Linked DNA regions of Homo sapiens: region 1 is linked to region 2. The links are contacts of gene promoters, found by promoter capture Hi-C in blood cells and fetal thymus (Javierre and others, 2016). All regions are on one chromosome and are shown on one strand. The core of a region is centred on a gene start or on the middle of the fragment in contact, and the rest is flanking DNA. Distances in the headings are between cores, read along the strand shown.

Evidence for each region. Contacts are between HindIII fragments. The CHiCAGO score rates a contact against its expected background, and 5 or more counts as called.
Region 1: a contact is called between a fragment that was not itself captured here and the fragment with the promoter of SPTSSB in region 2, in 1 of 17 cell types (M2 macrophages). The highest score is 5.4, in M2 macrophages.

What each region holds. Positions count from the first base shown.
Region 1 is chr3:161,022,751-161,027,113 of GRCh38, forward strand. The region is part of intron 2 of PPM1L (protein phosphatase, Mg2+/Mn2+ dependent 1L); the gene reads left to right. Among named protein-coding and RNA genes, the nearest start is that of B3GALNT1, 80 kb to the right of the region's middle. The HindIII fragment of the contact is 1,377 bases long and covers 2,258-3,634 here.
Region 2 is chr3:161,368,684-161,372,853 of GRCh38, forward strand. SPTSSB (serine palmitoyltransferase small subunit B) reads right to left here and starts at 2,834. Exons shown (of 3, transcript NM_001040100.2): 1 at 2,752-2,834. RefSeq lists enhancers at 2,307-2,861, 2,862-3,416. The HindIII fragment of the contact is 7,803 bases long and covers 1-4,170 here.

The DNA of each region.
Region 1 (4,363 bases), core at 1,696-4,195, 350 kb before region 2:
CCTCCTGGGTACACACCATTCTCCTGCCTCAGCCTCCCGAGTAGCTGGGACTACAGGCACCTGCCACCATGACCAGCTAATTTTTTTGTATTTTTAGTAGAGATGGGGTTTCACTGTGTTAGCCAGAATGGTCTCGATCTCCTGACCTCATGATCCGCCTGCCTTGGCCTCCCAAAGTGCTGGGATTACAGGCATGAGCCACTGTGCCCAGCCTCTCCTTCATTTTTGAAGCACAATTTTGATGGATGGAGAATTCTTTGTTGACACTCTTTTCATGAGCACTTCGATATGTTGTCCCACTGCCTTCTGATGTCCATGGTTTCTGATGAGAAATCAGCTGTTAGTCTCATTTGAAACTTTCTTGTACATTATGAGGGTTTTTTTTTTTTTCTCTTGCTGCTCTCAAGATTCTCTTTCAGTCTTTGGCTTTTAACAGTTTGATTGTATGTCTTGGTGTGGATTTCTTAGAGTTTATTCTACTTGGAATTTGTTGAGGTTCTAGGATGTATAGATTAATGTATTTCATCCCATTTTGTAAGTTTTGGCCATTATTTCTTCAAATATTCTTTTGTTCCTTTCTCTGTCTCATCTCCTTTAGGGAATCCTATATATGTTGTTGCAATTCATGATGTTCCACAGATTGTTAAGGCTCTGCTCTATTAAAATTTTTTAAAATTCTTTTTTCTATCTATTTCTCAAATTAGGTAATGTCAATTGACCTATCTTCAAGTTTGCTGATTCTTTATTATGCCTCCTCATATCGGCTGTAAAATCCTTCTATTGAATTTTTCATTTCATTTACTACGCAAATATAAACCAGAATTTCTATTTGGTAATTTGGTAATTTTTTCATTGATACTCTCCATTCAATGAGATATCATCCTTATACTTTCCTTTAGTTCTTCAGACACAGTTTTCTTTGATTCTCTAAACATACTATGATAGTGGATTTAAAGTTTTTTTCTTGAAAGTCTAACATCTGGGCTTACTTGGGGGTAGTTTCTACTATTAGTTTTTTATCCCTGTGTATGGGCCGTACTTTCCTGTTTCTTTGCATTTCTTATTTTTTTTCACTTCTTGCTTGTGTAGGGCCATAAAGTCATCTAGAGGTAATAAATTAGGGCCTTTTAAGGTCTTTTCTGCACATGCACACAGTCTTACACATGTATCCCAGGAATATGTTGGAGCTTTTCAAATTCCACTGTGGACATCCATTTCCCAAATCTTCCCCTTAAGATTTTTGGGGCTGGGCATGGTGGCTCATGCCTGTAATCCCAACACCTTGGGAGGCCCAGACGGGCAGATCACTTGAGGTCAGGAGTTCGAGGCTAGCGTGGCCAACATGGTGAAATTAGCTGGGCAAAATTAGCCGGACATGGTGGCACACACCTGTAGTCCCAGCTACTCAGGAGGCTAAGGCAGGAGAATCTCTTGAACCTGGGAGGCAGAGGTTGCAGTGAGCCAAGATTGTGCCACTGCACTCCTGCCTGGGTGACAGGGCAAGACTCCGTCTCAAAAAAAAAAAAAAAAAAGATTTTTGGATAGTCTTTTGTTTGGCTTTCACATGACTGCAGTGTTAAATAATTGCCACTGATTGCTTTTAACCAATACCCTGGGGATAGGGCTTTCCTACCTCGGAAGCTCTGAATCAGATCAAATAAGCTCTGGCCGGGTGCAGTGGCTCATGCCTGTAATCCCAGCACTTTGGGAGGCGGAGGCGGGCAGATCACCTGAGGTCGGGAGTTCGAGACCAGCCTGACCAACATGGAGAAACCCCATCTCTACTAAAAATACAAAATTAGCTGAGCGTGGTGGCACATGCCTGTAATCCCAGCTACTCGGGAGGCTGAGGCAGGAGAATCACTTGAACCCAGGAGGCAAAGGTTGTGGTCAGCTGAGATCACGCCATTACACTCCAGCCTGGGCAACAAGAGTGAAACTCCATCTCAAAAAAAAAAAAAAAAGGAAGCTCTGCAAATGAGGTTTTTCCAGTGAGCTCCCAGACAGGTCAGATGGTGACAGTTTTCTGGGGATGGAGCTCTTCTTCAGAGTTCCAAACCTCCTCATCCCCTTTTCATGATGGTTAGGCTGCTAATTTTCACAACCACTGTGAATACAAGGCTGCTAGTTTTCAAGGTTGCCACAGAGTTGGCTAGAGAGGAATGAGAATAGGGTGAGTTAAAACAACACAAAGCTCACTCTTCTTACCAATATTCAGCCATTTTCTTCTTAAATAAGCATGCCTTAGTTTGTTGAAAGCTTCAGGCTAATTTCTAGAATTCTGAAAAAGTTGTTTTTAACAATTTTTTCCAGTGTTCTCATAGTTTCGTGGAAGAGCAGACTTTTGGAAGTGCTTACCCTGCCATTCCAGAAGTCTCTTATGTATAGGTGCTATGGTTTGAATGTTTTCTCACCAAAACTGAGGTGTTGCCTGTGTGACAGTATCAAGAGGTGGGGCCTTTAAGAGGTGATTAGGCCATGAGAGCTTCTCCTTCATGAATAGGTATAAGGCCCTTATAAAAGATCCTTCATGCCAGGTACAGTGGCTTGCGCTTATAATCCCAGCTACTCAGAGGGCTGAGGCAGAAGAATCACTTGAGGCCAGGAGTTTGAGACCAGCCTGGAAAACATAGTAAGAATCCACTTCTAAAAACTTAAAAAAAATAAATAAATTAGCCCGGCATGGTGGCATGTGCCTGTAGTCCCAGCTACTCAGGAGGCTGAGGCAGGATGATCCTTTGAGTTAAGGAGTTCGTGGCTTCATTGAGCTATGATCACATCACTGCACCTTAGCCTGGATGACACAGCAAGACCTCATTTGTAAATGAAAAAAAAAAAAAAAAAGAGTCTCATGCAGCATTTGGTTAGCTTGCCCTTCTATCTTCTACCATGTGAGGACTCAGCAAGAAGGCCCTCACTAGAGGCTGGTGCCTTGATCTTGGATTTCCCAGCCTCCAGAACTGTGAGAAAATTAATTTCTGTTCTTTATAAATTACCCAGTCACTGGTATTTTGTTATAGCAGCACAAATAAACTAAGACGATAGGTTAAGCAAAATGGAAATTAAATATAAACAAAAACTCTTTGAGATTGAGTTTATTTTGATTCACTAGGAAATTAATAGTTCCATGTATTTTCTTATAATAATATTTTAAAGATCTAAAGCAAATAAAGTAAAATCTTAAAAGTTATTAAAGTTGAGTGGTAGGTACGTGAATATTTGTTATATTTTACATTTTCTAGTTAGGGAAATAATAACAAACATAAAAAAATCTTTTTAAAAGAAATATAATTAAGACTAGTTTTGCAATGTAGTCCTAAGGGGAAGTCCAAAGAAGGAACCCAGAAAGGAGGTAAGAGGTGAGGGCCTAAAAGTGCCATTGGCTGTAGTTTACATTCAAACATTAACAGATAGTTATTAACTGCTTCCCAGATGCAATGGTAAGAGTTTGTACTGCCCTTAAGGGGGTACTCACTGGTGAAGGGTTAGACAAGCAAGCAGGTGTGCATGGTATAGTTTCAAAAGATAGCTAAGTGCTAGGTGCTAGGGGAATTTCCACAAAAGGAGGGCCTTTAATCCACAGCTGCTGAGGAAGAGCTGGGAAGACCTCTCAGAAGAGGTAACATCTTAGTCAAGCTTTATAAAGGATGAATAAAAGTTGACGGCCGGGCGTGGTGGCTCACGCCTGTAATCCCAGCCCTTTGGGAGGCCGAGGCAGGAGGATCACCTGAGGTCAAGAGCTCAAGACCAGCCTGGCCAACATGGCAAAACCCTTTCTTTACTAAAAATACAAAAATTAGCTGGGCACGGTGGTGGGCGCCTGTAATCCCAGCTGCTCAGGAGGCTGAGGCAGGAATCCCTCACTTGAACCCAGGAGGCAGAGGTTACAGTGAGCCGAGACCACGCCACTGCACTCCTGCTGGGGAAACAGAGTGAGACTCTGTCTCAAAAAAAAAAAAAAAGAAAATTGACAAGGAGATAGAAGTGTCTTGGTGTCTTGTGCAGGGGAAAATGTACTTGCCAAACTGGTTTTTAATGGCCAGACTCAAGGAACAAGGTAATGGGTGGTGAACAAGAACAATTCACATAGGCCATGCCAATTGTTGAGTTTAAATCCTGGAGGCTATTGCTCTTTGGAAGATTTTAAGGTGGAGAAATAGCAGGGGAAGAAGGGCAGTGAGTACACTGGCTCCAGAGATGAGGGCTGGAATCTGGTGTCAAATTCTGGCTCTGAAACTTACTACCTTGGATCTTGGACAAGTTACGCAAGGTCTCTATGCATTGGTTTTCTCATCTGTAAAATGGAGATAATATTGTCTACCTCACAGAGCTGTTCTCAGCTTTAAATAAGCTAACTGATGTT
Region 2 (4,170 bases), core at 1,584-4,083:
CCAAAGTGCTGGGATTACAGGCGTGAGCCACCGCGCCCGGCCCCTAATCTTACCTTCTACTGCAGCCTCAGGAAACAACTAATCTACTTTCTCTATAGATTTGCCTATTGTGGATATGTTATGTAAATAAATCATATAGTATGTGGTCTTCTTTCACTTAACGTAATCTCTTCAATGTTCATCCATGTTGTAGTATGTATCAGCCACATGATTTTCATTGCTGAATAATATTTTATCATTTCATTCCATACTACATTTTATTTATCCATTCATCATTCAATAAACAACTTGGGTTGTTTCAATCAGCTTCTTTGGGTGTTATGAGTAATGCCACTATGAACATTTGTGTACAGTTCTTGAACGGACATAAGTTTTCAATTCTCTTGAATATATGCCTAGGAGTGGAATTGCTTGATTATGTGGTAACTCTATTCTCAACTTTTTGAGGAACGATCAAACTCTCTTCTATAGCGATTGCACCATTTTCCATCCCCACCAGCAATACCAGCAATATATGACAGTTCAATTTTCTCTACATCTTCTCTAACACTTGCTATTATCTCTTTCTTTCTTTCTTTCTCTTTCTTTTTCTTCTTTCTTTCTTTTCTTTCTTTCTTTCTTTCTTTCTTTCTCTTTCTTTCTTTCTTTCTTTCTTTCTTTCTTTCTTTCTCTTTCTTTCTCTCTCTGTCTCTCTTTCTTTCCTTTTTTTTTTTTTTTTTTTTTTTTTGTGATAGCCATTCCGGTTGGTGTGAAGTGGGATTGTACTGTGGTTTTGATTTGATTTTCATTTCCCCAACCACTAATGGCTAGTAAACACCTTCTCATGTGTAAATTGGCTGTTTCTACCTGCTCTTTGGAGAAATGTCTATTCAAATTTTTTTGTCCACTTTTAAATGAGTTGTGTTCTTGTTGTTGAGTTCTTCATTTTCTGTCTTAAGAGTGGAGGATGGTTGGAGGAAGAGAGCCTCAGAACTCTCAGTTGCTCTTATCTAGAATAGAGCTCTGAAACACAAAGCTGGGGATGATGAGTAATGCTGGTGGCCTGCTTCTCTCAGGGTATACTGTAGACGAGGATCTAGGTTGAGAGGGGGCCCTGCGTTAGTGGCTGCACCCATCCTTACTGGAACATCATCACACTCAACTGGAGAGGGTGGGGAAATATATTGTGGTTCAAGCATCACAATTGTTTGCAGTTCTTACTGAAATATAAGAGATTGTCTTGAATAAATATTTTCTTCGTGCTGTATGTCCTTAGGACAATTACCAGGAACTTTAAATGGTTATTTATCTATAATTTTCACCAGTTATTGTTGTTTTTAGGGAGTGGATTTGAAAAGCTCTTCACATCACCATTCTGGAAGTGAGTCCCATTTGGATCATTTTTTATGAATATTTTGTTTCTTTTATACTTGGTGGTAAGATAGTGGCAAAACTCTCTTTATAATTAGCATAGTAGAGATAGAATTGCTGTACAATTATAAAGGGCAGTTTTTATAAAAGTATTTGCAAATTTACAGTGAATTAAGAAAACCAATGAGAGTTGAGGACTGGTTGATTTTCAACTTCAAATCGACTTTCAACTTCAAATCTAGTCGAATTCTAGAATGACCATGCTTTGTTTTGACAAATAATTTTTAATTTATTATCATTAAATAGTTGTAAATAAATATCTGGATAATGAGAGTGACAGTACATTTCATACTACAGCTTGTTGGTTTTGGTCTAGTTATCTATGTACAAAGCCTTCACAGCCCTTGAGAAAGTCACCGAAATGACCTGTTTTAAACAGCATAGGAATAATTCAGATGTGGAAATCAAGTTATTAAAAATTCAACACTTTTATGTATACATTTTAGAATTTCACTAGCAAAAATTACCATGTCTTTCTTAATTTTTGTCTAATTCAAAATAAGTACTGCACCACAAAATCTTTTTGAAAAACAATTTTCCCAACTCCCCTGATGCAGTTATTTGGACTTTGGGGCTAGTTCTTACATTTAACAATTCTTCAAACTCCTTATGTGATTGTGGACTGGGCTCATATGTGAATTGCCAACCAGTTGAATGTCACTTTAGTTGAAACAAATCTGGAGTCCAACTCATATTTAAAATGCTACTCTAAACATTTCCCCACCTTCTTCATCCCCATGGCAAAGTTAACTATTTAGCTAACTCTAGCTGGCTGTCTTTTGGTGAAGAAGTTTGGTTACTTATAAAGGATGACTTAAGTATCTTTGAGAAAATACATACTGCTTAATACTTACAAGAGAATGTTAAAATGTATTCCTTGTTGGAAATTCTTCACTTTTTGGCAGGTGACTTGTGTGTACTATTGCCTAAAGTACAGTAGTTTAAGTAGCTTATGGGCAGAGAGGGATTGTATAGGAGCACGGAACTAGGTAAAGATGAATATTTAAGAAGGAAACCAAGCACAACCCAATGATATTTTCCTGAGTCGTTAATGGACTACACGAAGGTAAATAGTGAAAATAGTAAAGAAATTTTCTCTTCTTTTAGTTTGGAAAGTTTCAGTGTTAAAGTTTGGCTTCTACTGAGTGAAACATCTTAGTTTCCCACATAGTGAAAGGTAAATGGAAAAATCCATCAATTCTGAAAATTGTAATGCAGTTAAATAATAAACTGATAAATTGCATTAAAGCTCAGTATTAATTTTTTCCTCCTATAGAGACAGGAATTCTATCCTACTAAAGCTACTTAACAGTTCAAGTAGGTATTTTGGAAGATGCTTACCTCCCAGTTGGGTGTATCTCCCTGCGGCTTAGGTGAGCGCCGAGGCTTTGGCTCCTCCCCAGCTGCTGCGAGCTTCCCACTGCGCCGGGCGCCTGGGAGCCTCCCGGAGTTAGGTGTTCGGCCCCGCCCTCAGGACTCTTGCTAAAACTCAAATTCTACCTGGCTAATTCCGGTGATTAATTATTGACAAAAGGAAAACACTCCTACGCAAACTTGTGTCCAACCGCACTGCTCCCAGCGACTCCTTCCAGAAGAGAATGCCTGCTGCAACACTCCCCTCCCCCCCTTGCTCTATGGTCCCAACTTCTCATACGCTGCCACTCTTAGTCCTGGGCGATCAGACTGGTCCTCGGAGGAATGCAGCCCAACGACTTCTACATTTTAAAATCTGGTTTTCTGCAGCTCGTTCGCAGTTCTCCAGGGACCAGCCTCTCGAGAGGGGGCGCTTTCCCGGTGCAGGGGAAGCCGGGGCTCCGAGAGCAACAGAGGCGGCTGAGGCGTCGCTGTCACCTCCGGCTGCTGCAGTAAAACCCCGAGCCGAGGCGGGGACGGGGAGGAGGGGATAGGGAGGCGCCCTCCCCCGCTCTGGGGCTGGGATCCCCGACTCTACTGAAGGGGCACGTCCTTTGGCGGTGGTAGAGGGGCGGGCGGATAAACAGGAGGTAGAAGGTGGGAGCTCTGGGGCTTTAGCCTAAGCTGCGTTAAAGCGCTCAGGGAAAGCCCGCGCCCAGCATCCATCGGGCTGCAGACTTTGGCAAGGGGGCGAAGAAGCCCGGGTGTAAGCGCAGCAGGACTGCGTCTGAAACTCGGCATCAGGCTGCTAAGTGAGCCCAGGGCTCGGGCTGGGGCAGCGGGCGGCCAAGCAAGCATCCCACCCCATTTATTTGTCAAAAACCGAAGAAAGCAAAGCCTTTTAGCACTGGCAGCTAATTTTGGTGCCTCTGAACGTGTGAAACGCCCCTCCCCGCCCCACTCGCATCCTGCCACCTTGCCCGCGGTAGCTAGGAGGTTAATCGTTAAAAAGGTGGACTCCCCCAGGGAAATAGATGAAAGGATCGTGCCCGGAGAACTTGTGTGTGCCCACTCACAAGTGCAGAGAATTAATCTCGGCCCGGACTGCGGCAGGAGGGCAAACTGGGGAAAGAAGGCTGGGAGGCGGCCCGGTGGTGCAGAGACGCGCGGCGCCTGCTCCCGCGGCTCCCGGGGCTGGCGTGCCCTGCGCTTACGCTCCGCGCTCGAATATCTTCCCCGGAGGGCTCGGGACCAGCGCGAGCACCTTCCCTGGAAGCCCACATCCATCACCCAGCGATCTCCTCTCCATCGAGAGCAGGGCTTGCTGAGAGTGGCGGAGGACCTTGAAGGCTCCCGGTTCTGTATCTCCGTGGCCGAGACGCTTTCTGCTCGAGGCCCAGGGGAGTC